Regions from separate parts of the Homo sapiens genome. Here regions 2, 3 and 4 are each linked to region 1. Evidence: promoter capture Hi-C in 16 types of primary human blood cells and fetal thymus (Javierre and others, 2016). All regions are on one chromosome and are shown on one strand. Each heading gives the region's core, a stretch centred on a gene start or on the middle of the fragment in contact. The rest is flanking DNA. Distances are from core to core; before and after follow the strand shown. Region 1 holds the start of TMEM119 (transmembrane protein 119). Region 2 overlaps SSH1 (slingshot protein phosphatase 1). Region 3 overlaps SSH1 (slingshot protein phosphatase 1). Region 4 overlaps SSH1 (slingshot protein phosphatase 1).

Region 1 (6,356 bases), core at 1,774-4,273:
TAGCTCACTGTAGCCTTGAACTGCTGGTCTCAAGCAATACTCCCACTTCAGCCTCCCAAGTAGCTGGGACCATAGGGATGTGCCACACCCAGCTAATTAAAAAAAATTTTTAGAGACAGGGTCTCACTAGATTGCCCAGGCTGGTCTTGAACTCCTAGCCTCAAGTGATCCTCCCACTCAGCCTCCTGAGTAGCTAGGGTTACAGGTGTGAGCCACTGCACCCAGCTGAGTGTGTCACACCTTATTTGGCAAAAGGGATTTGCCGATATGGTTAATTAAGGCTCTCAGGGAGATTATCCTGGATCCTCAGGGTGGGGCCAACGTCAACACTAGGGGCCTTCAACGTGGGAAAGGGAACCGGAAGAGAGATGGTGGTATGAAAAGGACCCTGCCTGCTACCACTGGCCGGGAGGGTGGAGGAAGAAGCCTAAGAGCCAAGGAATGCCAGCAGCTTCTAGAATCTTGAAAAGGTAAAGAAAGAGATTCGCCCCCAAGACTCCAGAATGAACGCAAGCCCTGTTGACACTTTGATTTTTAGCTTCACGAGGCCCGTTTGGGACTCTTGACCAAAAGAACTGCAAGAGCATGAATGTGAGTGGCTTCTGGCCTCTAATCTGTGGTCATTTGTTACAGCAGCAACAGGGAACTATACCCTTGGCCTTGGCCTGTGCTTTTGACATTGCTGAGCACGTGCATGCTCCCTAGCTCCTCTGCCTTCCCCTGCCAGCTTCCGAGTAGTAGGGAGTCTCCATCTCCATTTTACAGAGGAGGAAACAGAGGCTCCATGTGGGGCAGGACATGGTGGAGGCAGGATTTGAAGTGGGTCTGTCTGCCTCTCGCTAGATGAATGAATGAATGAATGAATGAATGAATGAATGTAAGGGGCTGCTAATCCACGGGACTCCTCAGGTCAGCCAGATGTCCTGGTTCCAGGGCCTGCCACTAACTCACCTCAGATCCCTGCTTGAACCATTAGAACTCACCTGCCTCACTTTCCCCCTCTGTGAAATGGGGCTCCAACGCCTATTCAAGCTACTATCATTGGGGGCATTGTGAGGCCACAGATCCCAGAACAAACCCTCCAAACCCTCATTGACTCCCTACTGCCTCCTAGGTGACCTTCCAATACTTTAGCCCAGCTCCTGCCAATGTCTCCAACACTTACTACCCCTCCTTCAGGGGGATGCTCTGCCCAGGAGGGAGAAGCAAAGAACGAGGGGAAGGGGACTCCGAGAGCTTCCCTCAGGCTGGGCCTCTGGGGCCACCTGTGCAGGGAGCAGGCTCTATTTGGGTTGGTTGTGTCCCTGCTCCTCGACATCCCAAGGTCCCCAGACTGCAGCCCTCAGAATGTTGGGTAAGGTCTTCTTCCCCTGCTGGTGGGCCCTGGGGGAGGTTTGGCTGCCCCTGACCACCCGATGTCTGGTCTAAGACAGGTCAGGTAGGCCTGGAACACCCCTGGCCACCTTAAAGCGGGCACAGCTGCTACAACATGTCTGTGGGTGGCCACTTGCCCCTGGGACATGTGTGTGCATGAATGTGTCTGTGCGAGTATTGGTGGATGGTCCCCTGTTCCCTCGAAGATGCAGGGTTTGGGGTGATTTCCAGAGAAGATGGGAAAGTCTCTGATTTTATTTCCCAAGCAAATGACTGTCCCAGTTTTCTGGGGGTGAGCGAGGGCTGCTGGGACCATTGCAGGGAACAATGATAATCTAGGCTTGGTTCCTACCCAGAGAGCACGCACTCATCCTTCATGCACTCCCCTGTTCCAAACCCTCACTGGCTCCGTACTGCCTCCGACCTTCCGAGACTTTAGCCTGGCTCCTGTCAACATCTCTGACCCTTACTACATGATCCTCTCTTTGGTCCATGCTCCAGCCTAATCTAATTGCGGTGGCTTGTGCGTGGTGGCATTCCCAGCCACCATACCTTTACCCACGCTGGTCCTTCCATGCGGAATGCCTTTCCAGGGCCTGCTTTGCCCGCTTCTGCTCATACACAGGCATGCCCTCCAGGATGGCTTCCTACCTCTTTCCCTTGGGGGATTGATCTCTCTGTCTTGGGGTTCTCGGAGCCCTTGACCTGACCCCTTTCTGTTTGGCAAAAAAGTAATTTACCTCGGTGTCCTTCTCCCTGGTAGTCTGTGAGCTCCCCAAGGCTGGGCTGTGCCTGATTCACCTCTGGAACTTGCTTAGCACAGTGCGTGGCCTGCTGCAGGTGTTCATTGAGCACTTGCCGAATGAATGCATGAATGAATGAATGAATGAATGAATGCAAGGGGCTGCTAATCCACAGGACTCCTCAGGTCAGCCAGACGTCCCGGTTCCAAGGCCTGCCACTGACTCACCTCAGGACCCTGCTTGAACCATTAGAACTCACCCTGCCTCACTTTCCCCCTCTGTGAAATGGGGCTCCAACTCCTATTCAAGCTACTATCATTTGGGGGCATTGTGAGGCCACAGATCCCAGAACATCAGAGTCAGAGGTAGCCCAGAAAGCTTCCCACCCATCCCTACAAATGGGAAACTGAGGTCTGGAGAGGGAAGGGCAGAGTTGGGCTCCCTGTCTCAGGCTCGGACCCACCATCAGGCCTGTCTCTAAAACGAATCCCAGCTCCCACGCTGCACCCTGAGCCTGGAAGCCTGAGCCACACAAGGACGGGGAATTTTCCTTCCCACTTCCAGAGGCCTCTGAACCTCCCTGAGCTTGTCCCCTTTGGAGGGTATTGGGCAGCAGCGTGGGCAGAACCCCAGCTCACTGTCTGGGGGAGCGCTGCAGGACAGCCTTGTCTGTCTGTCTCAGCCTGCCCTGGGGACCCGAGGTCAGGGAGGAAGTGCCGCATCTGGTCTTCCCCAGAGCGAGAGTGTGAGCAAGGGTGGGATTGCGTGTGGCCCGAGAGTAGCCCCTCCCCTCCCCCTGTCCCCACCCCAAACCCTCTTAATGAAATCAAGCTGGCCCTGCGGCCCAGCCGGGGAGGGAGGAAGGAGGAGGGACGGGAGGAGGGACGGGAGGAGGGAGGGCGGGCAGGCGCCAGCCCAGAGCAGCCCCGGGCACCAGCACGGACTCTCTCTTCCAGCCCAGGTGCCCCCCACTCTCGCTCCATTCGGCGGGAGCACCCAGTCCTGTACGCCAAGGAACTGGTGAGTCCTGGGGTCCCCTCCTCTGTCCTGAGAGCCTGGAGCTATCTTGGAGCTTAGGGACTGGGGACTGTTGGAGCACTCTGGGGGGCCTCTCTAAGTGTGTGTGGGCTTTGAGTGTGTGTTTGGTGTTGTGTGCATGAGTGTGGTGGAATCTGAGTCCCGTGTGCGGTGCTGGGGTGGGCCAGGGTGGGCCGGAGTGTTGTGTGTGTGCGGCTGGGGCCTTGGTGTAGGGGGTGTGTTGCTTCCACTTTTCTGCAAGTGGATGCCAGGCTGTTGCTTCCAGGATCTGTGTGAGGGTGATGTGGACGGTATTGTCCTGTGTGCAGGGATCGGCTGTGTGTCAGGGGGTTGTGTATGTATATGTGTTGTGTGTCCGTGTGTGTTCTCTGTGTATTGTGTGCATGGGCCATGAGAGTGCTGTTGGGTGTCTCAGTGCTGTGTGAGTCGGTGTGCCTGTGTTGTGTGTCTTTATATTGTGTGTCCATGCTGCTCTGTGTGTGTGTGTGTGTGTGGAGGGGGATTGTGCCCCCAGGACCCCCCTCCCCATCCAGACCTCCAGGGCCCAGGTCCCTGTCCTTGGCTGGCCCTGGGGTCGGGGGCATGTGCAGTGCTCCAACCAGAACACCCCTCCCCCACAAGGCCACTGATTGAAGCCAGGTTTCCGTGGGCCGCCCCTCCCCCAAAGGCCACCAGTCTCTGGGTGGGGGTGGGGCAGCCCCCGGTCCCCTAGCTTCAAGTCTTGGGGCCCCCAGGCCTCAGGGGTGCATCTGCACTCCTCCACAGACTCAGGACCATCTTAGGGCATTTGCCACACTTACACACGGCCAGCCCTGCCTGACATGTCCCCAGGCAGGGAGTCCTGGGCAATCACGTGGTACCTGCTAATTGGCACCCACTGTGCACCAGGCATGGCCGCATCTTGTCCTAACAGCAGTCCAGGGAGGTGGCTCTTATCCCCATTGTACAGATATGGAAACCGAGGCTCAGAGAGGTGACATGCCCAGCCCAAGGACACATAGCCGGGAAGTGACCTCCTCTGGGATATACCAAGACAGGCTTCTCTGTCCAGGGCTCTGCTGGGCTCACCCCTGACTTTCTGTGTGACCTGGGCAGGCTGTTTCCAGTCTCTGGACCTGAGTTACCTCTAAGGTGAAGCAAGAGGCGTTGGGCCTGACCCCAGCTCCTAATGGCCTGTTAGATTCTGAGTCCTTGAAAAAATTAGGGTCCGGGGGGAGGTAGGCAGAATAATGACTTCAGAGCTGCCCAGAACAGTGCTTCATTCCACAGATGGGAAACTGAGGCCCAGAGAGGGCAGGGGCCGTCCAGGGCCACACAACCATCTTTTTTGAGGCTCTGCTGACTGCAGGTGGGGCTGGGTCCTCCATACGTTGCCCCCACCTTTCCCTGGAAGCCAGGAGGGGTTGTGGGGTGCAGGGGACTCTGAGAGTCAGGGTCTCAGCCTTAAAGAGCCAGTGGCAGTTTGTGTGTTCTCCTTTCTTGCCCTCTGCCTCTGACTTCGTGTGTGTGTGTGTGTGTGTGTTGTATGTATATGTGTGTGTAGGTGTATGTGTGCATGTGTGTGTATGTGTATGTGTGTGCATGTGTGTGTTTGGTTCTGCATTCCTTGGCGGCCAGAGCTAAAGAGGTTTCACTGAACGGGGTGAAAAGGTTGGTCTTTCACTGGGTGGCGGCCGGACCAGACAGTGAGCGCATGTTCCCATCCGGCGATGGTGCTCATTTGTCGACTCAGGGTGGGAAATTGCTGGCTGAACCTGGAGTTCGGCTAGGGAAGGAATTCAGCTACCCCAGACCCTATCTTTCCTCGGGGCTCAGCTACTTCGCACCAGGCACTCTCTGAAAGTTGTCTCATTTGGCCCTAACAGCTCTGAGAGGTGCTACCTGTGGTCACCCTGTCCCAACTTACGGATGGGGAAAGTGAGGCCCACAGGAGCCAGACCACAGAGCTGGATGCGATGGAGCCGGGATTCTTGACCCAGCCAGAACTTGAGTGGGTCTCCAGCCACCCATGGTCCCAGCTGCCCTCTGCAGTGAGAAGTGGTAGTTGTTGCCACAAAAGCTCTCTCCTAGGCTTGACTGGGGGTGGGAGGCAGGGAGGTGACTGGCAGGTCACAGACCCCAAAGCTCAAGGTTGTCTGTAGGAACCTTTGCTAACAGGTGCCAGAGAGGTGAGGGGGTCCTTTCCTCATTTAGCATCTGACAGGTGATGTCCACCAGCGGGAACAAGCCATTCCTGGCTCAGAGTGTGTGGTGTGTGCATGTGTGTGTGGTTGTGTAGGTGAGTGTGTGTGGTGTATGTGTATGGTTGTGTGTATGTGGAGTGTATGCATATATGTGTGGTGTGTGCATGTGTGTATGATTGTGTGTAGTATGTGAATGTGTGTATAGGGGTGTGTGTGGGGCATGTGTGTACGTGGTTGTGTGTGGGGTGTATATGGGTATGTGTGGCGTGTGTGCATGTTTGTGTGTGGGGTGTGTGTGCATGTGTGTAGATGATTGTGTGTGTAGTATGTGCATGTGTGTATATGGGTGTGTGAGTGTGTGTGTGGTATGTGTGTGCATGGTTGTGTGTGGTGTGTGTGCATGTGTGTATGATTGTGTAGTCTGTGCATGTGTGTATATGGGTGTGTGTGTGTGTGGCGTGTGTGCATGATTATGTGTGGGGTGTGTATGGGGATGTGTGTGTGAGTGTGTGGCGTGTATGAATGGTTGTGTGTGTGGTGAGTGTGCATGTGTATGTATGGCTGTGTATGAGTGTGAGTGTGGTTTGTGTGAATGTGCGTGTAAACTCCTGGGATCAGACAGAGGAAGGTTCAGATCCCAGCTCAGCTACTTATCATCTGTGTGTCCTTGGGGAAGTCACTGTCTGTCTCTGAACCTCTGTTTCCTCATCTGTAAAATGGGGATAATGAAGCTGCCTCAGGGCTCCTGTAGGATTAAAGGCATGAAAAGGGCTTAGATGAGTACCCGCGAGGAAAGCACAGGTGACCAGCTCATTTAAAATGAGCCCCTGAGAAGCTTTGTCTCTTTTTTAAAAAATTGAAATATTTTAATATATTTCATAGAGATGGAGGTTTCCTTATGTTGCCCAGGCTGGTCTTGAACTCCTGGGCTCAAGCGATCCTCCCAAGTAGCTGGGACTACAGGCATACACCACCAGGCCTGGCTACTTTTTTATTTTTTTGTAGAGGTGGGGTCTTA
Region 2 (6,356 bases), core at 1,580-4,079, 230 kb before region 1:
CCAGCATTCCTTGTCTGTGACCCCTTTCCCTAAGTATAACGCTCTGCAGAGCTGGAATTTTTCTATGCTCAGCATTATGTGTTTAGGGGGGTACAATTTGGGAGCTCCGGTTGACAGGTGTGTCCCTAAAGTTACTTGTTTTCTTAGGCTCTGAAGAGTGACATTTGGAACGAGGCCCTGCCATGTTGCACTGCAAGGCCCACAGTGAAGAAGAACGAGACCTTGGCCCAACTCAGGGTCTTTGTGACTTTTAAACACGAGTTCCAAATGAGGGAAGAACCTGTGGGAGAACCATGGAAAGAATTTTCCATCCGACCTGCAGTCTTTAGCTAATCTCTCTCCAAATGGTGAATTTTCGATCTCCTTTACATCTTTATCAACTTCACTTTGCTAGGCCTGGGGTTCTGAATCCATCCAGAGCCTCACTGAGAGTGGTTTTGAGGTCAGTTGATTAGCTTTCCACGTTGCTGCTATTGCTGCAGGTCAGATGGTGCTGCTTTCTGACCTATGGATTCTTCAGGAAGAGCACCGAACTTTTTCAGCCCCATTCTACCTCTTATTAGCCAGATGACCACAGACAAGTCATTTATCTTCTCCCAGTCTTGGTGGTTTCATTTTCTTTTCTTTCTTTTCTTTTCTTTTGGGAGGCGGGGGTGGGTGGGACAGAGTCTCCCTCTGTCTCCCAGGCTGGAGTGCAGCGGTACAATCTTGGCTCACTGCAACCTCTGCCTCCCGGGCTCAAGTGATTCTCCCACTTCAGCCTCCCAAATACCCGGGACTGCAGGTGCACGCCACCACACCCAGCTAATTTTTGTATTTTTTGTAGAGGCAGGATTTTGCCATGTTGCCCAGGCTGGGGTTGTTTCATCAGGGGAATGGGATTGTAAAAATTAAGTGGAAAAATGTAGGGACAAACTCTCTATAACTAGAAAGCTATTATTTACATATTTAAAACAATATATGTTGATAGTATACCAGGCATTCAGGTGCTGAGAATTTGTGATGTTGACAGTGCGATGTCTCAACCACAAGCATGAGGTTTGTTTCTTAGGTTTGCACATTCTGAAACTTGAATTTGTGAGTTCACTCAGGGATGATCAAGTTCTAAGAAACCAATTTACGCTAACCAAACTTATAAGGAACTGATATATAAAGCACAATTTGTAAATTGAGGTTTATGAACCCACAGGGGGGCCTTTTATGACAGAGGCCAAATCCTCCTGGGTTCACAATAAGGTACATGTAGCATAATCATCTTACTCTCCTGCCCCTTATGCCTCTCTGTTTACTGATCCTTCAGGGCCTCGCAGGCTTCATTTCTTCCAGGGAGGCCTCCCTGAACCCCTGTGTGTACGTGCATCTGCACCTTCCACCTCCTTCCACCGTGGAACTTGCTGCCTTATATCGAAGTTACTGTCCTGTGCCTGCCTGGCCCTCCAGTGTCACTCCAGACCAGGTGTGGAGTGGTCTGTGGCATGGGTGGAAACCGGGTCTGTTTCACTTCTAAATTCTCAGGCCTTAGCACTGACCGGACACAATAGACACTCAGCAAATACTTGTTGATCGAAACCGAATTAACAGAGCCTCCTTTTTGGAATGCTCGTTGGCACCCATCTTTCTATGCTGACAGCATTACATTAGTTCCTTTTTCTCCTAGAATTACCATCAAGTTCGCTGGACAATTGACAGTCCCCTCAGTAATCACCATGCAGAGTGGGGTACCATTGAGGGTTAGTTCTATCCAGGGAAAAGTGATTCCGTTTGTCTCAGCCTGTCCCATCAATCTGGGACCCTTTACAGGGCCTCTTCTTCAGGCTCATATTCTCTACTTTTTTTTCGAGATACAGCATCAGAAATCCTAAATTTGTACTATTTAACTCCCTGTTTCCTTAGGCATAAATTAGTGTAATAATGCCTGTCTGGTCTTCCACACGGTTTTGTGAAGATCAGATGAGTTGACATTCACCAGAATGCTTTGTCCACAGCAGAGTTTGTCAAAGGTCTGATCTGAGGTTGGTCTCGGTGGCTCACAGCTGTCACCCCAGCACTTTGGGAGGCCAAGGCGGAACAATCGCTTGAGCTCAGGAGTTGGAGACCAGCCTGGGCAACATAGCGAGACCCCATGTCTGTTTCACACAGCACAGGTCTGATCTGTTTTTGCTTTCACTGTCATCATTTCGTATTGTCATGATGCAGCGTCTCCCTTAGAGGGCCAGAAGAACATTCAGGTCTCTGAAAGTGTGTAGTAGAAGACTAGCATCTGTTTTACTGCTTCCAAAGAGAGTATTATTTTGTTTTTGACCCTAGCATGACCTCCCTTTATTGCACCTAATCACATCACCCACCTTCTGAGAGCACCATGCCTTTTTGTTGGTGTTACCTTTTACCAGCAGAAAACATCGACGTGTACCTATGTGAGAGGTATCTTTATGAAGCCCATGGAGAAGACTGTTTTCTCTGTGTCTTCTGATGTTGTTTGTTTGTGTGTTTGTTTTTGAGACAGTCTCACTCTCATCCAGGCTGGAGTGCAGTGGGGACTCCAGGATCACAATCTCCACTCAGTGCAGCCTCGACCTCCAGGGTACAAGTGATTCTCGTGCCTCAGCTTCCCAAGAAGCTGGGACTACAAGTGTGCGTCACCACGCTCAGCTAATTTTTGTATTTTTAGTAAAGACTGGGTTTCACCATGTTTTCCAGGCTGGTCTTGAACTCCTGACCTCAAGTGATCCACCCACCTTGGCCTCCCAAAGTGCCAGGATTACAGGCGTGAGCCACCATGCCTGGCCATGATGTTATTTGATTCTGAGGTTTTTAAAACTTGGCTGTGCATCAGAAGCACCCCCTGGAACTTTCTGGAGACAAGATCTGTCTCCCAGGTTGGAGTGCAGTGGTGTGGTCACAGCTCACTGTAGCCTTGACCTCACCAGGCTCAAGTGATTCTCCCACCTCAGCCTCCTGAGCAGCTGGGACTACAGGCACACACCACCAAGCCTAGCTAATTTTATTTTTATTTTTTTGTAGAGATGGGATCTTGTTACGTTGCCCAGGTTAATCTTGAACTCCAGGGGTCAACTGATTCTCCCACTTTGACCTCCCAAAGTGCTGTGATTACAGGCATGAGCTACCATGCCCAGCTCCCTGGAACTTTTTAAAAAAGTAGATGCCCAGGACTCATCACAGACCTTCCGAATTAGACTCTGCTGAGGCTGGACCTGGGCATGAATGTGTTTTAGGAGTTTGATAGGTTGTTTCAATGTATGACCAGAGTTGGAATTCAGGGGTGTTTGGATATTCCATACTGTGATGTTTCTATACCTACTATTTTTGTTCTTCAAGAAATGCTGTTTCTATGCAGCAGGGCAGACACCCAGATCACCAGCACATATACCCATTCCTTAAAGAGGATGGCTGTCTTTGCCCTTATCAGAGCTTGGGCTGGCTTGGCTTACCCTGTGCTCCATGCTCTGCAAATGTTTGCCTGTTTGGATGAATGAACAGAACCCTGTAAGGAATTCTAGGGGTTAATTCTAGGGGTTAATCAGAGTATATATGGTAGAATGTAAATTGGAACCCAGAAATATGAATTCCCAGACCATTGTTTTTACTTTTGTTCCCCACCGCCCCTGCCCAAGACAGTGTCTCACTTTGTCGCCCAGGCTGGAGTACAGTGGTGCGATCTTGGCTCACTGCAACCTCCGCCTCCTGGGTTCAAGTGATTCTCTGCCTCAGCCTCCTGAGTAGCTGGGATTACAGGCATGCACCACCACACCTGGCTAATTTTTGTATTTTTAGTAGAGACAGGGTTTTGCCATGTTGACCATGCTAGTCTCGAACTCCTGACCTCAAATGATCCACCCATCTCAGCCTCCCAAAGTGCTGGGATTACAGGAATGAGTCATCACCCCCAGTTTTTACTTTTCTTAAACCTTAAAGCGCGGCAGTCACCATGGGCGTTGTCCATGCTATCCCTGGTGATTCTATTTTGGAATTGTTGACGGGCTTCCTTCGTTTGTCATATGGAGAAAATACCTTACCCTGCAGAACTGCCAGAGTTCAATGACGTGGCGTAGCTAAGTACCTCCTACAGCCTTGGCCACATGGGAGATCCTCAGTAAATAATAGTCCTGTTGATGAGAAACTTACCTTGAAAGCGACTTCTTGGTCAGCGTGGCTGTGTGGTTTACAGAACTCCTTAGCCTCTATGCAGTGCAGAAGGGCCAAAGGATGTGTCCTGTCCCCCAACTATGACGGCAGTGGTGGGTAGGATAAGGCTGTGGGTCCCCTGCCCTTCTGATTTCTACTTGGGCAGATGGAAGAACCCCGGCACAGTCTCGTCTTCCTGGAGTTCTGTTTGCTTGAATGGTTCCTTCTCTCTCTTTCCCACGCATGATGCATTCACACACTGGGAAGAAGGACGGAAGATGTGATCCACATTCTGACTTCTCAGTGCCTTAGTGGCTTTGCCATTAGGCACCTGGGCAGGCATGAGCGGATGTGACCGCAGCATAATGGCTCTGATTTTCATTCTGGATGAGTAGAACAGCTGCTTAACAGGGGTTAAGCAGGTGGGCGTGGGGCAGATAGATGTGAGTCCAGCCCCATCTTGTAGAGATATGTGCTCCTAGGCAAGCTGGGGTTTCCTCACCTGCAAAACCAGAATCATGGTAATGTGTGTTTCACTTAATCCGTAGGGAGGATCGCTTGGTCACTTGTGAGCCGAGGGAAGAGAAGCCCCTACTCAGTGCTGCTTCCTTCAGGAATTGTTCCAGAAGTCACCAGTTAAATGCTCCCTCCTCCCTCTTGTAAACCCTAGCCGAGCCCCTTTCTTAGGGTACTTATTCCATTCTCTCCTGCGTCATGGTTATTCACATCCTGAACTTATTTCTCTCACTGAAAGAAACGCTAAAAACACAGCTCTTGGCTGGCTTGTGCCTGGAGGGTTTGGGATCACACCTCCAACCTTTAGGACCTTTGCAGCCTGACCTGCCTTGGGCACCGTGCGTATCCCAGAGCTCCTCATAGGTGTGCATGTGGTCCCCTCTACCTGGCGTGTCCCCTCAGATAGCTGTTAGCATGACTGAAGAATTTTCAGGATGTAACCGTGCTTTGAGTACGCAGAATAACTAACTGCGGCAGCTGCCCACGTCACCGTCACCGTTGGGTAAATGGATGCTGATTTGAAAGAAAGAGTCATCCTTCAGAATGTTGATTTGAATCGGAAGGGGGTCTTGTTGCTTGGGGTTGGTTCCTTGGGGCCAGTTGTTTGCCCTCACAATGTCGAATGCACACCCCGGTGCTTGTTTCTCCGGCCTACAGAAAAGCCCGTAGGAGTGCAGTGATTAGAGGAACCTCAGCTGTTTTGCTGAATGGCCCTCTTTCATCAGGATGTGCTGGGACAAGGGCCTTTTTCAGCCAAAATATCAGAGGAAGACAAGAGTTCCACAAGAGCCATTTGCTTTTCGGGTAGGACTCTGAGGAGGAGTTGGCTCCCCAGCCCTCGTGGAAGCACTCGGCAGCCTCCTGGCTTTTCCTGATCTCCATAGGGAGCAGATGGCCAGAGCTCGGAGGGCAGTTGTAGGGAGCGTTAGAGATGTGAGCACTGCAGCCACGAACCTCTTTTATTTTACCGACTTCTGCATCTTCCTTCAGCCAACCCACTGCTTCTGCTGTCCAGAGGTTTCCAGCTCAAATTAGTACGTATGACCACCCTGATTACTGGTTTCCTGCCATGGCTTGGTTTCTGGATGACACTGGCTGTTTATATTTTGGGGGCCTGGGGTTTTTTGAGGAGCATTGATTGAGGTTTTTTGTCTGTCTTCAATGCTTTGGAGAAACTTTAATCTTATGAAGCTTCCCGAATGGCAGTAATCAGTGTCCGAGAACAGATCTGTGTGGTGGAGATAAAAACATTCCAGTTGGCGGGTAGAGAGGGCAGCGGCTTTTTTTTTTTTTATCCCTCATCAAGATTTTTCTTACAGCGGTGGAGGAAGACATTTCCGTTTTGTCTGTCTGCGTCTGACCTTTTGTAACTTTAGTCACTCCTTTTAGGACACTCAGATCTTTTGTGAGAAGAGTGACTTCTGGGTGGCTGGGATGGATGGCTTGTGGGTTTGGGCTTCCTGGCCCCAGACACCTGGTAAAGTGAGCGTGCCATCACCAATGTGGATTTCTTCATGGACTTCCCCAGTGGGACACTTTGAGGGTCTGATGAATCGGGAGCCTGTGCCTCTGGGCATCAGAAGCTGCAGTCGTCAGATACAGTATTCAGGTCAGCCACGCAGAGGGCGCATGAGGCTCTGGGCCCAGAGTGAGCTCAGAAGAGAAGCCAGGAAGCCGGGTCACAGAGACTTTCTGCA
Region 3 (6,356 bases), core at 2,489-4,988, 220 kb before region 1:
CAGAGGTGGGAGAGGGCTGCGTCCTGATGGAGAGCCTGGGGAGTCGAGCCACTGGGAACACTAGGGTGTGCCATTTCAGCTCTCTGTGCCAGGCACCGTGCCAGCTCCAGGCTGTGCTCTCAGAACTCAGTCAATTGAGAGGACAGAAAGTTATGCTGTTTGCTTAGAGAGGTTTTACACCAGCTGCTATAGAGTGGGGCACCTTAGCCAGAAATGCTTCCTGAAGGAGGTGACAACAACGCCGAACCCAGAAGGCCAAACCAGAGTCTGCCAAGGGAAGCAGGGAGACCCTCTCAGGCAGAGGGGCCCGGGGAGAAGTATGGAGATTGGTGGGCCTCGCCTCAGACACCTCACCCCACAGTGATACTCCACTGATTCCCAAGTACTTCATGGCAGGTCCTAGTCAGAGGCTTGAAGTGTAGCTTGTAATTTCCCACTAACTGGAGGCCAAGTAAGTTAGAGCATTGACCCCAAGATGCGTGTGAAATGAGGGTGGAGTCACTCCCCTGACATCACAAGATAAATGAATGCCTGTGAGATCATTGCAAAACCTGGATTTGTTAAAACTAGATTAGATTCCCTTTATTCATCATTCATTCATCGACTCATTCATTAAGCATATGATTTATTTGCATTCTCCTGTGTATGAGGCAATGGGCTAGGCCCAGGTAAACAAAGAAGCAACAGTACACACAGTTCTTGGCCTCAGAGAGCTTCTAAGTGAGCATGGAAGACAGTCACAACCAGATAGGAGGGAGAGAGTGACCGAGAGGTGCTGGGGTTTTGTGAGACCACAGGAGGGGGTGACTGTTGAGAGCACCTGGCAGGACCTTTCTGGCAGGAGTGAAGCCTAAGCCGACTCTTAACGGGCAAGTGGGCAGTCAGGCGAGCTCTAGGGTGGAGGCGGAGCAGCAAGGTGCATTTGAGGAGCATTTGAGGCAGAATCAACAGCAGAAACCAGTCAGGGAGGCCGTGAGTGTCACGGTAACAGTATGGTCTTGTCTTGTTCCCATGAGAGCTTCTGTAAGTCACATGCTAGCGACTGAGACTTTGATGCTTGTTAGAAGGAGATGAATAAAAAAGGGAGGACATTTCTTTTATGACATGGCCCCCACCCCCGCAGTACATAATAAATAGCACTATGAGAAAGTTTCCTGTGACACATGTAGAAGATGGAGTTGGGGCTGGCCTCTGTGGCCTTGGGGTGGTTGGGAACCTGGGGCTAGAAGAACCTGTAGCATAGGAGGTGTTCGGATGTGAGCTCTGAAGAGCCACTTGGAGACTGGAGGGCATGGTCCATTAGGATGGGGTGCCACCAGGCAGGTGCTCTCAGAAATGCCCAGAGCCCCATCTATTTGGCCATTATCTGTACGGTTCTGAGGCATAGCGGTGTTTAGTGTTTGACCGTCTTGCGGTTGTAATTGTTCTTCCAGTGACTGTCTAGCTTTTCTGAATCTTTCTGAGGCAGGGACTTCCCTCGCAAGTGTGGCCTGTTCCAATAATGCTTTCTGATCCCGAACGGAAATCGGCCTCCCATGGCCTGTGCCCAATGTCTTGATCCTAACCGTGGGAGCAGTGTGGAAGCCCAGTCCTCCTGACTGTAGAGTACAGCACACCTACAAAATGCCTCTGTGAACATCTCATTTAACCCCTTCATCCCCCTGGGGTGGGTAGTGCTACCTCAGATTTTACACATGACAGTCAGAAGCTCACGAGGCTGCAGTGATTACCCCAGGGTCATCCCGGTTAGTGGCCGGGCTGGGACTTGGAGGCAGGGCTTTTCCTGTCGACCTGCTGAATGAGTAGATGCCACTCATTCTTTCCCAGCAGGCTGCAGCTCTCTTCCTGTACACCACCTTGCTCATTCATTCACTCCTAGGTTTATCATGTATGGACTTGCTAGCTCTTTCCCTGTGCCGGGCGCCCCGCCAGGTGCTGGGGCCACATCAGGGAGCACGGCAGACACACCTACAGTCTCACAGAGCTCACAGGCCAGCAGTCACGGGCATGCCTTAGATGCCCACATGCGCATCCCACTCCGCTGCTGCCTGGCTGGAGGAGACTGGCCCGTGCGCTCGTCCGCACCGCCCCCATGGCGCTCTTCCTTCCCACCCTCTCCTCCCTTTGCCTCCCCTCGGCACCCCGACTTCAGTTCTCCCAGGTCCCTCTCCCTGTGGTTCCCTCGCCTCTCCTGCATGCTCTTCCCTCAAGTTCGAGTCTCTGCACCCTCTGAGCAGGAGCCACGGCCCACCTGTGGGCACCGACCCCAAGGCCAGGGCAGGTCTCTGAGGTTGGAGAGGGCGGTTGAGAGGCCACCCAAGATGAGCAGGGGCCTGATGGGAACCGGAACTAAGCAGTCTTTCCTGTCGCTGGGCCTGACACAGCTGCCTTCTGTGCCCAGGGAATCCCGGGGGCTGGGAACTGGGCCTTCTCCTGCAGCTCCCACATTGCCCGGGCACCAGGCTGTTGTCTTCCTTCCTGGCTTGAAAAAAAGTCCAGGTCCCCGCCAGAAGCCTTTGGCCTGCTGAGGGAGCAATGTACTTGTTTTTTCTAAATTCCTTCCTTGGGATTTTATTTTTTTATTCCCCCTGCCAAAAAAAAAAAGGAAGAGACAAGCATTACCCCCAAAGGGCATCTTCATAAGAGTCCAACGCTTCTCCAGAAGGCAGCATTGGAATGGCGGCTCCTGCAGCAGGCTTGCGCACTCTCAAAGTTTTTGTTTTTGTTTTTAAGATGGGGTCTCACTCTATCACCCAGGCTGGAGTGTAGTGGCACGATCTTGGCTCACTGCAACCTCTGCCTCCCGCGTTCAAGCGATTCTCCTGCCTCAGTCTCCTGAGTAGCTGGGATTACAGGCATGCACCACCATGCCTGGAAAGTTTTTGTATTTTTAGTAGAGACAGGGTTTCACCATGTTAGCCAGGCTGGTCTCGAACTACTGACCTCAAGTGATCCACCCTCCTCGGCCTCCCATAGTGCTGGGATTACAGGCGTGAGCCACTGTACCCGGCCTCACTCAGAGTCTTATATCTGCATACGCATCCTGGGAAGACCAGAGCAGCCATGCCACCTTAGGGTTCAATCGTGGATTCTATTCTCTTCTCTTCTTTCTTTTCCTGTTTTCCCTATCCCCTTCCCCTTCGCTTCCCTTCCCTTTCACCTTCCCTTCCCCTTCCCTTCCCTTCCCCTCCCCTCCCCTCCCCTCCCCTTCCCTTTCCTTCCTTTTTTTTTTTTTTTTTTAATTTGGAGACAGGATCTCGCTCTGTCACCCAGGCTGGAGTGGTGAAATCAAGGCTCATTGCAGCCTCAACCTCCCAGAATCAATCATTTCTCCTACCTCAGCCCCCTGAGTAGCCGAGGCCACAGGCACATGCCACCATTCCCAGCTAATTTTTTTTTATATATAATTTTTAAAAAAATCACTATTGCCCAGGCTGGTCTCAAACTCCTGGGCTCAAGCAGTCCTCTTGTCTCCACCTCCCAAAGTGCTGGGATTACAGGTATGAGCCACCACACCCGAGCAGGATTATGTTTTCGATTCGGATTGGGAACATTTTGAATGCCATGAGTGTACACCACCATCCACACATCAGTGTTTTGCCATTGGTGAAGGACTCCACGATGGGGTCTTGGAACAGGCTGGTCTCCTGCCTGGACCTCCAGACCCATCTGGCTTCTCTGTTCCCGCCATACAGGCCCTAGGAACTTGGAGCCTGCTTTCTTCTTCTGCAATTGCTCCCACCCACTTTATCCTTTGGGGTCACTCTTCCTCTAAAAAGATTCAGCTTCCCTTACTATGTATCCCTTTCCTGCTTCCCATGTATGCTCCCCAGGTGGAGACAAGAGGACTGCTTGAGCCCAGGAGTTTAAGACCAGCCTGGGCAATATAGTGGGGCCTTATCTGTACAAAAAAGTTTTTTTTAAAAAGCTGGGCATAGTGGCATGTGCCTGTGGTCCTAGCTACTCAGGAGGCTGAGGTGGGAGGATTGATTAGGCCCTGGAGGTCGAGGCTGCAGTGAGCTGTGATTACACCACTGTATTCCAGCCTGGGCAACGGAGCAAGACTCTGGCTCAAAAAAAAAAAAAAAAGAAAAGAAAAATATGCTTCCCATGGGTCTTCCTTCCTTGTAGAAATCTTATTGTTAATCATTGTAGGACTGCTGGAAACTCACAAAAGTAACAGCTAGGGGATGATAGGAGATGCGTGCAGTTGTTGCAGTCCTGTATGGTCCCTGTTCCATGCTCCTGGCTCTAGTTGAAGGCCGTGAGCAGAAGTCCCCTGTGGGCTGAGCCTCTTGCGCATCTCTGTCCAAGGGAGGCCGGCCTAGGGGCTTAGGTTCCACATGGTTTTATGTGCCCCTTATTTCCCATGGGCAGTCTCATCCCTGCCCCCTTGACCTCCGCCTGCCCTGGAAGGCCCCGCCCCTGGCCTAGGCCTGGCCTTGGCCCTGCCCCCGTCCTGTGCTCTCTGCAGCTCTCTGTGCTGTACCCACCTCCTTATGAGTTCCTGGTGAGGGTTGTCAGGGCTCAGGTTGGGTCTTCTAGACTGCACGTTCTCAGGGCACCATCTGACCTGGCTTCTGCCTGTCGGATTTGGGCTCCATAGGGACCCTTTCCTTGCCTCCTCCTGGGGCTGACACAGCCACGTGGTCCCTAGAGCTCTGTGAGGCCCAAAATAAATTTTATTTTTCAGTGCTATAAGAGAAATACTAGTTAGTCCCTCCAGAGTGGGTAGGATGGCACGGAGGGACCTGAGAATTTGCCCAACCCAAAAGCCTGAGTGTCATTGGCCGGAAGGGCTTGGAACAACCTTCCCCACAGATATAGAAGCATGGGGTTGAGAAGAGTCCTGCATGGGGCAGGGCGCTACCTGGGAGGGGAGCTGGGTCTGTGATCCCCAGAGGCCCCATTCACACGGGCACACATAAAACATGACCGTGGTGTTGGCAGCAGCAGAGATGGAAGCATGAGATTCCTGAGGTCCACAGAGCTGGCTCTTGGCACGGTTACAGCGGCTTCTCACAAGTCGACTTTTAAATGCCTGAAGAATTTTCATCATAATCTGAGGACTCTCCGATAAGCCCTTTCTTTCCCTCTGTTTTTCAGTGGCGCCAGTCTCTGCAGTCATTCGGTCTCATTTCACTGGTAGGATGGGCAAAACAAAACCAGATTAAGCGAGATTGTAAAACCGCAGCCACACTAAAGGCGCAGGTGCACAGGTCTGAAAGTGAGCTCCGGGAACGGTGTGAGCACGCTCCCCCTGCCGCCACCCAGGACAGGCCAGGCCGGGCTTGGCTGCCGGTGCTTGCCTATGTACCCCCAAGTACACATGTGGCCTCCGCCAGCAGAGCACCAGCCCTGGGCAGCTGCCTCCCTGCTGTAGAGTGGGCGTGCGGTCAGCCCACACTGCACCCAAAAGCCTCAGCTGAGCACTTACGGAGTTGTGTCCACAGGGCCATCCCAGACCTGTGTCTTCTAGAATTCATCAGTGAACGGTTCCTATGCAGACAGCCTACTCCCACACGTACGTCCAACAGCCCGTCCTGGACCAGGTGGTGAGCTGGAAAGGCTGTACACGTAGGTGGGTAGACGCTGACTCCACATGTCTTCTCTCCCCCATCGCAGTAAAAGCTGCACCATTGGGATGGTTCTCCGACTGTGGAGCGACACGAAAATCCACCTTGATGGAGATGGGTAAGGAGGTCTCTTTAAAAGATTCTCTCACTGTATGTAGTAGGCATTGAAAACACGAGCTGGTTCAGGCATCCTTGGATGATCATTAGCACTGAATGACACGTGTGGCGGGAGTGTCACAGCGGGAGAAATCATATTGCCCTCGAGTGAGAGGGCACGAGGGAGGGTATGTTTTGGACGTCTGATTGGGGAGTTTAGCTCATGAAGTATCAGTGGGAGTGATTACAGGAGATATGCTGCTGTGTGAAGTTCAAGACAGCGGTAAACCGATACCCATCCGCCACCTCGATGGGTTAAGTGAACTCTCACCGCATGCCCTCCATGGGGCTTGTCCTGAAAGTTCACGGACTAATGTGGTGCAGCAGGAACTCACCAGCTTTGGGGGTACAAGGAGAGACATACAACTGACAGGCACAACAAGGTTTCAAGCGCCACCCTGGGGGCCACAAAGGAGGAATGAACCAGTTCCACCCGGGCAGGCAGTCGGGGGATGAGGGGCCGTCTAGCGTCCGCACGCGTTCACTCCCAAGGAAGGTGTGTGGGCACGGTGAGGAGTGGGAAGAAACAGAATAGGAAAGTGGCCTGACACGGGGATTCTAAGCAGGTCAGAGTTATGTTGCCTTGTAGGATGGGAAGAGAAAAATAAAAATTTGATTTGTTGT
Region 4 (6,356 bases), core at 1,946-4,445, 190 kb before region 1:
GGTCCTTGAGGGTGACTTAGTTACCTTATTTCACCGTAAACTTTTTTTTTATGCCTTACATTTTAAAAATGTATTACAGGGCTTGGTGCAGTGGCTCATGCCAGTAATCCCAACACTTTGGGAGGCTGAGGTAGGAGGATCGCTTGAGACCAGGAGTACAAGACCAGCTTGGGCAACATAGCAAGACCCTGTCACTACAAAAAAAATAATTTAAAAATTAGCCAGGGATGGTGTCACATGCCTGTAGCCCCACTTGGGAGGGTGAAGTGGGAGGACTGCTTGAGCCCAGGAGTTTGAGGCTGCTGTGAACCGTGATCACACCACTGCACTGCCTGGACCACAGAGTGAGACCCTCATCTCAAAAAAAAAAAAAAAAGGGATTATAAAAACAATGTCATCATAGTAGAAGAAATTGTTTAAAAACTGACCTAAACCTAAACAAATACTTTCTAGTTTTCCAGGATCTTCCCAAATGCATTGCAGTGCGTTATGTGTGTGTATAGTTGTATTATCGTGTATAGATCTGTACATACTCCACTTTGATTCCCTTCATTTCCCTACAATATAGGTAGGAGAGCGTTGTTATTCTTATTTGACAGAGAAATGAGAGATGGAGTGTAACTGACGTGACAATGAGGCATCACTAAACACAGATACACAGATTGAAGTCTAGACGCCCCCGCGTTCCTTCCCCGTTGTCATCAGAGGCAGAAAGTCACATCAGGCTTCCTGTGCGAGCCTGGACAACTTAGGAGCCAGTGCTGTTTCTCATCCTTGTGTTTCTTGGGAACAAATGAACAGAGAGAGGCTTTACCTGAATGAGCCATGGATCGTCCCTGGCGCCCTGACCTTGGGCAGCCCCTCACTGGCTCACCGCATACTCTTCCCAGCACCCCCAGGCACCATCCTCCTCCCCTCACCTTCCTCTACCCTCTCTCCCCGCAGCAAACAGCGGCACAACAAGCTGTGGCGTCAGCAGACAGACAGCAGCCTCCAGCAGCCTGTGGATGACCCTGCAGGACCTGGCGACTTCTTGCCAGAGACCCCAGATGGCACCCCGGAAAGCCAGCTGCCCTTCTTGGATGATGCCGCCCAGCCCGGCTTAGGGCCCCCCCTCCCCTGCTGTTTCCGGCGACTCTCAGACCCCCTTCTGCCTTCCCCTGAGGATGAAACTGGCAGCTTGGTCCACCTGGAGGATCCGGAGAGGGAGGCTCTGTTGGAGGAAGCTGCTCCACCTGCAGAGGTGCACAGGCCGGCCAGACAGCCCCAGCAAGGTTCCGGACTCTGTGAGAAGGATGTGAAGAAGAAACTAGAGTTTGGGAGTCCCAAAGGTCGGAGCGGCTCCTTGCTGCAGGTGGAGGAGACGGAAAGGGAGGAGGGCCTGGGAGCAGGGAGGTGGGGGCAGCTTCCAACCCAGCTCGATCAAAACCTGCTCAACTCGGAGAACCTAAACAACAACAGCAAGAGGAGCTGTCCCAACGGCATGGAGGTAGGCAGAGCCCGGCCTGCAGGGTGGCACACCCCATCCCTTCCATCCCACTCTAATTGGCCTACCTCAGCCTCTGTAGTAGGGACTACAGGCACCCGCCACCACACCCAGCTGATTTTTTTCTATTGTCTCCTCTGGGCCCCCAGCTCCCATCTCCAGGGACCTGAGGGTTCTTTCACAGGGTGATTCTGCTGGTGGGTACGTAGTGCATACCTTATATAGCAAATTGAGAATCTGTTGGGAATAACACATATCTCTGCACACCATCTTCACCCCATGTACCTTATTCATACCCTGGGCAGGGCTTCCAACTCAATTTCTTTTTGTGTATGTAAAATTAAAACATATAATTTATCAGCCAACTTCAGCCTTTATCGATATATGACTATTCTTTTTCATCTCACCCCTACCACCCACTTCCCCACACCCCTGATGATCCTGGAACCAATCCCAGATTTAGATATAGATACCTGTATCTAAAAAATATATATTATAGGTATATACTGTAGATATAGATAGATACATACTATAGACAAGTTCTCACTGTTTCCCATGCTGGAGTACAGTGGCATGATCACGGTTCACTGCAGCCTTGACCTCCCAGGCTCAAGTGATCCTCCTACCTCAGCCTCCTGAGTAGCTGGGACCACAGGCGCATGCTACCACACCCGGTTAATCTTTTCTATTTTTTTGTAGAGATGAGGTCTTACTGTTGCCCAGCCTGGTCTCAAGCCATCTGCCCACCTTGGCTTCCCAAAGTGCTGGAATTACAGGTTTGAGTCACCACGCTTGGCCTCAGATATATCATTTTATTCATAAATGCTCCAGTATGTTAACATAGCCACAATACCATTGTCACCTTTTAAAAAAACTGATAGGGCCAGACGCGGTAGCTCACATCTGTAATCCCAGCATTTTGGGAAGCCGAGGCAGGCAGATCAGGAGGTCAGGAGATGGAAACTATCCTGACCAACATGGTGAAACCCTGTCTCTACTAAAAATATAAAAATTAGCTGGGTGTGATGGTGCATGCCTGTAATCCCAGCTACTCAGGAGGCTGAGGCACGAGAATTGCTTGAACCCAGGAGGCAGAGGTTGCAGTGAGTCAAGTTCGTGCCACTGCACTCCAGCCTGGGTGACAGAGCGAGACTCCGTCTAAAAACAAAAACAAAACTGATAGTAATTTCCCAACGTTGTCAAGTATCCAGCCTTCCAACTTAGACTCTAATACTTAACTCCATTAGTCTCTTGGAGTTGCCATTTTTAGTGGATTATCTGCCACAAGGTTTGAGCTTCAACCTGGTGCTTACTGAGAAATTGGTTAATTCCAGCCAACCTTTTCCCTCCTCCATGGGGGAAGTGATGCAGGAGCAGAGGCTGGTTCAGTGGAAGGGTGGCCGTGCAGCCTGGTCTCCACTTCCACCCTTGCCCTGCTGCTGACTTTGTTGCCTCTGGCTTCACCTGCCCATCTCACAGGACAGCCGTGGTTCTCAAGTGGGGGCACTTGGGGTCCTGACAGATGCATTCAAGTATACAGCCAGTTTATTATTATTAACAGCATGTTATAATGCAAACAAAACTGGGCAGTTGCATCTGTCGACCTCCATAAAGCATTCCAAATCAAATACTAATTATGGATTTCCCCCACTTCCCTGCCTACCACAAAGCAAATACCCATAAAGACAGATGAGATAAAACCCTGGGCCAGGTGCAGTGGCTCACGCTTATAATCCCAGCACTTTTGGAGGCCAAGGCAGGCAGATCATCTGAGGTCAGGAGTTTGAGACCAGCATGACCAACATGGTGAAACCCTGTCTCTACTAAAAATACAAAATTAGCTGGGCATGGTGCCGCACGCCTGTAATCCCAGCACTTTGAGAGGCTGAGGCGGGCAGATCATCTGAGGTCAGGAGTTTGAGACCAGTCTGACCAACATGGTGAAACCACATCTCTACTAAAAATATTAAATTAGCTGGCTGTGGTGGTGCATGCCTGTAATCCCAGCTACTCAGGAGGCTGAGGCAGGAGAATTGCTTGAACCTGGGAGGCAGAGGTTGCAGTGAGACAAGATCACGCAATTGCACTCCACCCTGGGCAACAAGAGCGAAACTTCATTTAAAAAAAAAAAAAAACTGGAAGCCATGGCGGGGCCTTTAAGCAGGTGGGTGATGAGCCCCCTCTGGCTGTGGTCTACAGGCAGGCTGCTGGGGTAAGAGGGGAAGTTGGGATGCTGGGATCACAGTGGCTCAGAGGATGGGGCAAGGACATAAGGAGGTGTTGAGAGACAGAGCTGGCGGGGTGTAGTCGCTCACACCTGTAATCCTAGCACTTTGGGAGGCCGAGGCAGGAGGAACACTTGAGCCCAGGAGTTCGAGACCAGCCTGGGCAACATAGTAGGACCTTGTCTCTTATCTGTTTGAAAGAGAGAGAGACAGAGCCCTGTTGCCCTCCTGCCTTGTCCTGCCCTCCAGCCTACAGTCCTGTGCAGGCGGGGTGGGGTAGGGGGGTGCCCTCCTCCTTCCTGCTTTGCTTCTGGACCTGCATGCTGCTCTCTCTGGCTGGTCAACACCTGCTTGTCCCAGAAGCCTCAGCTGAAGTGTCAGTTCCTCTGGGAAGCCTTCCCTCCGCGGAGACTTAGAACTTGTCCCTCTCTCCCCTGGGACTCTTCACACAGCTTTCTAGTCCATTCCCAGGACCACTGGGTACCTGTCAGTTGGCCTGTAAGGAAGTGAAGGGTGGGGACACAGAGGCATGTGTCACGTTCACTTAGATCCTCACTGACCAAAAGGCAGGAGGGTTTCCTTAGGAAACAATGTAAACTTGTTTTCTATTGGGGTATAAAATCCACCTCAGGCCAGTGGTTATTCTCGATCAAGTGGGCTCCAGGAGGTCTGTCTGTCAGTATTAAGTGAAATGAGAGCCTCCCCTCCAGGCCTGGCCCCCAGTCCGGCCTCGCACCCCTTTCCCTGCCCACCCTCATGTTTTTGGTCTTTGGCTCATGACTGCACCGTCTCACCATGCTCTTGTCCCCTTCCTTGCAGGATGATGCTATATTTGGGATCCTTAACAAAGTGAAGCCTTCCTATAAATCCTGTGCCGACTGCATGTACCCTACAGCCAGCGGGGCTCCTGAGGCCTCCAGGGAGCGATGTGAGGACCCCAATGCTCCCGCCATCTGCACCCAGCCAGCCTTCCTACCCCACATCACGTCCTCCCCTGTGGCCCACTTGGCCAGCAGGTCCCGTGTTCCGGAGAAGCCAGCCTCTGGCCCAACCGAACCTCCCCCGTTCCTACCACCAGCAGGCTCCAGGAGGGCAGACACCAGTGGCCCTGGGGCTGGAGCTGCCCTAGAGCCACCAGCCAGCCTTTTGGAACCTTCCAGAGAGACCCCAAAAGTCCTGCCAAAGTCCCTCCTTTTGAAGAATTCTCACTGTGATAAGAACCCTCCCAGCACAGAAGTGGTAATAAAGGAAGAATCGTCACCCAAGAAAGATATGAAGCCAGCCAAGGACCTGAGGCTTCTGTTCAGTAATGAATCTGAGAAGCCGACAACCAACAGCTACCTGATGCAGCACCAGGAGTCCATCATTCAGCTGCAGAAGGCAGGCTTGGTCCGCAAGCACACCAAAGAGCTAGAGCGGCTGAAGAGCGTGCCTGCAGACCCAGCACCTCCCTCCAGGGATGGCCCTGCCAGCAGGCTGGAGGCCAGCATCCCCGAGGAGAGCCAGGATCCAGCCGCGCTCCACGAGCTGGGCCCCCTGGTTATGCCCAGCCAGGCCGGGAGTGATGAGAAGTCAGAGGCCGCCCCCGCTTCATTGGAAGGAGGCTCACTGAAGAGCCCCCCTCCTTTCTTCTACCGCCTGGACCACACCAGTAGTTTCTCAAAAGACTTTCTGAAGACCATCTGCTACACCCCCACCTCCTCTTCCATGAGCTCCAACCTGACCCGGAGCTCCAGCAGCGATAGCATCCACAGTGTCCGTGGGAAGCCCGGGCTGGTGAAGCAGCGGACACAGGAGATTGAGACCCGGCTCCGGCTGGCGGGCCTCACCGTCTCTTCCCCACTGAAGCGCTCACACTCTCTTGCCAAGCTGGGGAGTCTCACCTTCTCAACGGAAGACCTGTCCAGTGAGGCTGACCCGTCCACCGTCGCTGACTCCCAGGACACCACTTTGAGTGAATCTTCCTTCTTGCATGAGCCCCAGGGAACCCCGAGGGACCCAGCTGCAACCTCCAAACCATCAGGGAAACCCGCCCCAGAAAACTTAAAGAGCCCTTCGTGGATGAGCAAAAGCTGACCCGCCTTTTGCTGCGTCAGGCTGGGCGGATATTTTCATATGATCCCTCCCTCACTTTCACTGTGGATTTGGATCGACCCCTTACATCTTGATTTCCCTTAAACGAGTGAAGTCATCCTAACTTTTCCCCTACTCTTGCCATAGAGAGGAGGAGAAGAAACTAACCAACATGCAGCACAAGAAGGGGAGCTGTCAGTCGTGTGGCCTGGGAGAACCAGGAGCCGCCGGCCAGGAGACACAAAACTCCGCTCCCACCGTGTCTTCAAGAAGAACCATGTTTTAGGAAGAACGTGCACACATAGGCGCACACATCCAGACTGTTCCCTTCGCATCCTGCAGAAGAGTCCTGGTGGTGGCAGCCTCACCGCGGCACACGTTCTAGCTCATTCTTGGCCTCGCAGAAAACTCTCGGATGGCAACATTAAGTCCTACCTCTGTTCTCGCTGCGCTTTTTATTTTTAAAACACACGAATGACCAAGGCTTGTTCCAGGGAATAATGCTCTGTCTGAAAGCGTTTTTCCAAAAAAAGAATTTTTCGTTTTGTGTTTTGGTTGGGACCCCAGACGTG

What was found. Contacts are between HindIII fragments. The CHiCAGO score rates a contact against its expected background, and 5 or more counts as called.
Region 2: a fragment that was not itself captured here is called in contact with the fragment with the promoter of TMEM119 in region 1 in 2 of 17 cell types (total B cells and naive CD4 T cells); the score reaches 5.3 in total B cells.
Region 3: a fragment that was not itself captured here is called in contact with the fragment with the promoter of TMEM119 in region 1 in 7 of 17 cell types (naive B cells, total CD8 T cells, total B cells and 4 more); the score reaches 7.2 in naive B cells.
Region 4: a fragment that was not itself captured here is called in contact with the fragment with the promoter of TMEM119 in region 1 in 1 of 17 cell types (total B cells); the score reaches 5.7 in total B cells.

What each region holds. Positions count from the first base shown.
Region 1 is chr12:108,594,751-108,601,106 of GRCh38, reverse strand. It overlaps TMEM119 (transmembrane protein 119), which reads left to right and starts at 3,023. Exons shown (of 2, transcript NM_181724.3): 1 at 3,023-3,137. The HindIII fragment of the contact is 3,678 bases long and covers 2,498-6,175 here.
Region 2 is chr12:108,826,600-108,832,955 of GRCh38, reverse strand. All of the region lies in intron 2 of SSH1 (slingshot protein phosphatase 1), which reads left to right. Among named protein-coding and RNA genes, the nearest start is that of MIR619, 7.2 kb to the left of the region's middle. RefSeq lists enhancers at 1,164-1,273, 4,725-5,296. The HindIII fragment of the contact is 6,047 bases long and covers 1-5,852 here.
Region 3 is chr12:108,810,598-108,816,953 of GRCh38, reverse strand. SSH1 (slingshot protein phosphatase 1) reads left to right here. Exons shown (of 15, transcript NM_018984.4): 6 at 5,626-5,694. LOC101929204 (a long non-coding RNA gene) reads right to left here. Exons shown (of 4, transcript XR_945329.3): 2 at 5,438-5,656; 3 at 4,494-5,142; 4 at 609-2,588. Among named protein-coding and RNA genes, the nearest start is that of MIR619, 23 kb to the left of the region's middle. RefSeq lists an enhancer at 2,160-2,763. The HindIII fragment of the contact is 9,269 bases long and covers 1-6,356 here.
Region 4 is chr12:108,787,419-108,793,774 of GRCh38, reverse strand. It overlaps SSH1 (slingshot protein phosphatase 1), which reads left to right. Exons shown (of 15, transcript NM_018984.4): 14 at 946-1,489; 15 at 4,531-6,356. The coding sequence ends at 5,787. Among named protein-coding and RNA genes, the nearest start is that of MIR619, 46 kb to the left of the region's middle. RefSeq lists an enhancer at 1,111-1,611. The HindIII fragment of the contact is 8,442 bases long and covers 1-6,356 here.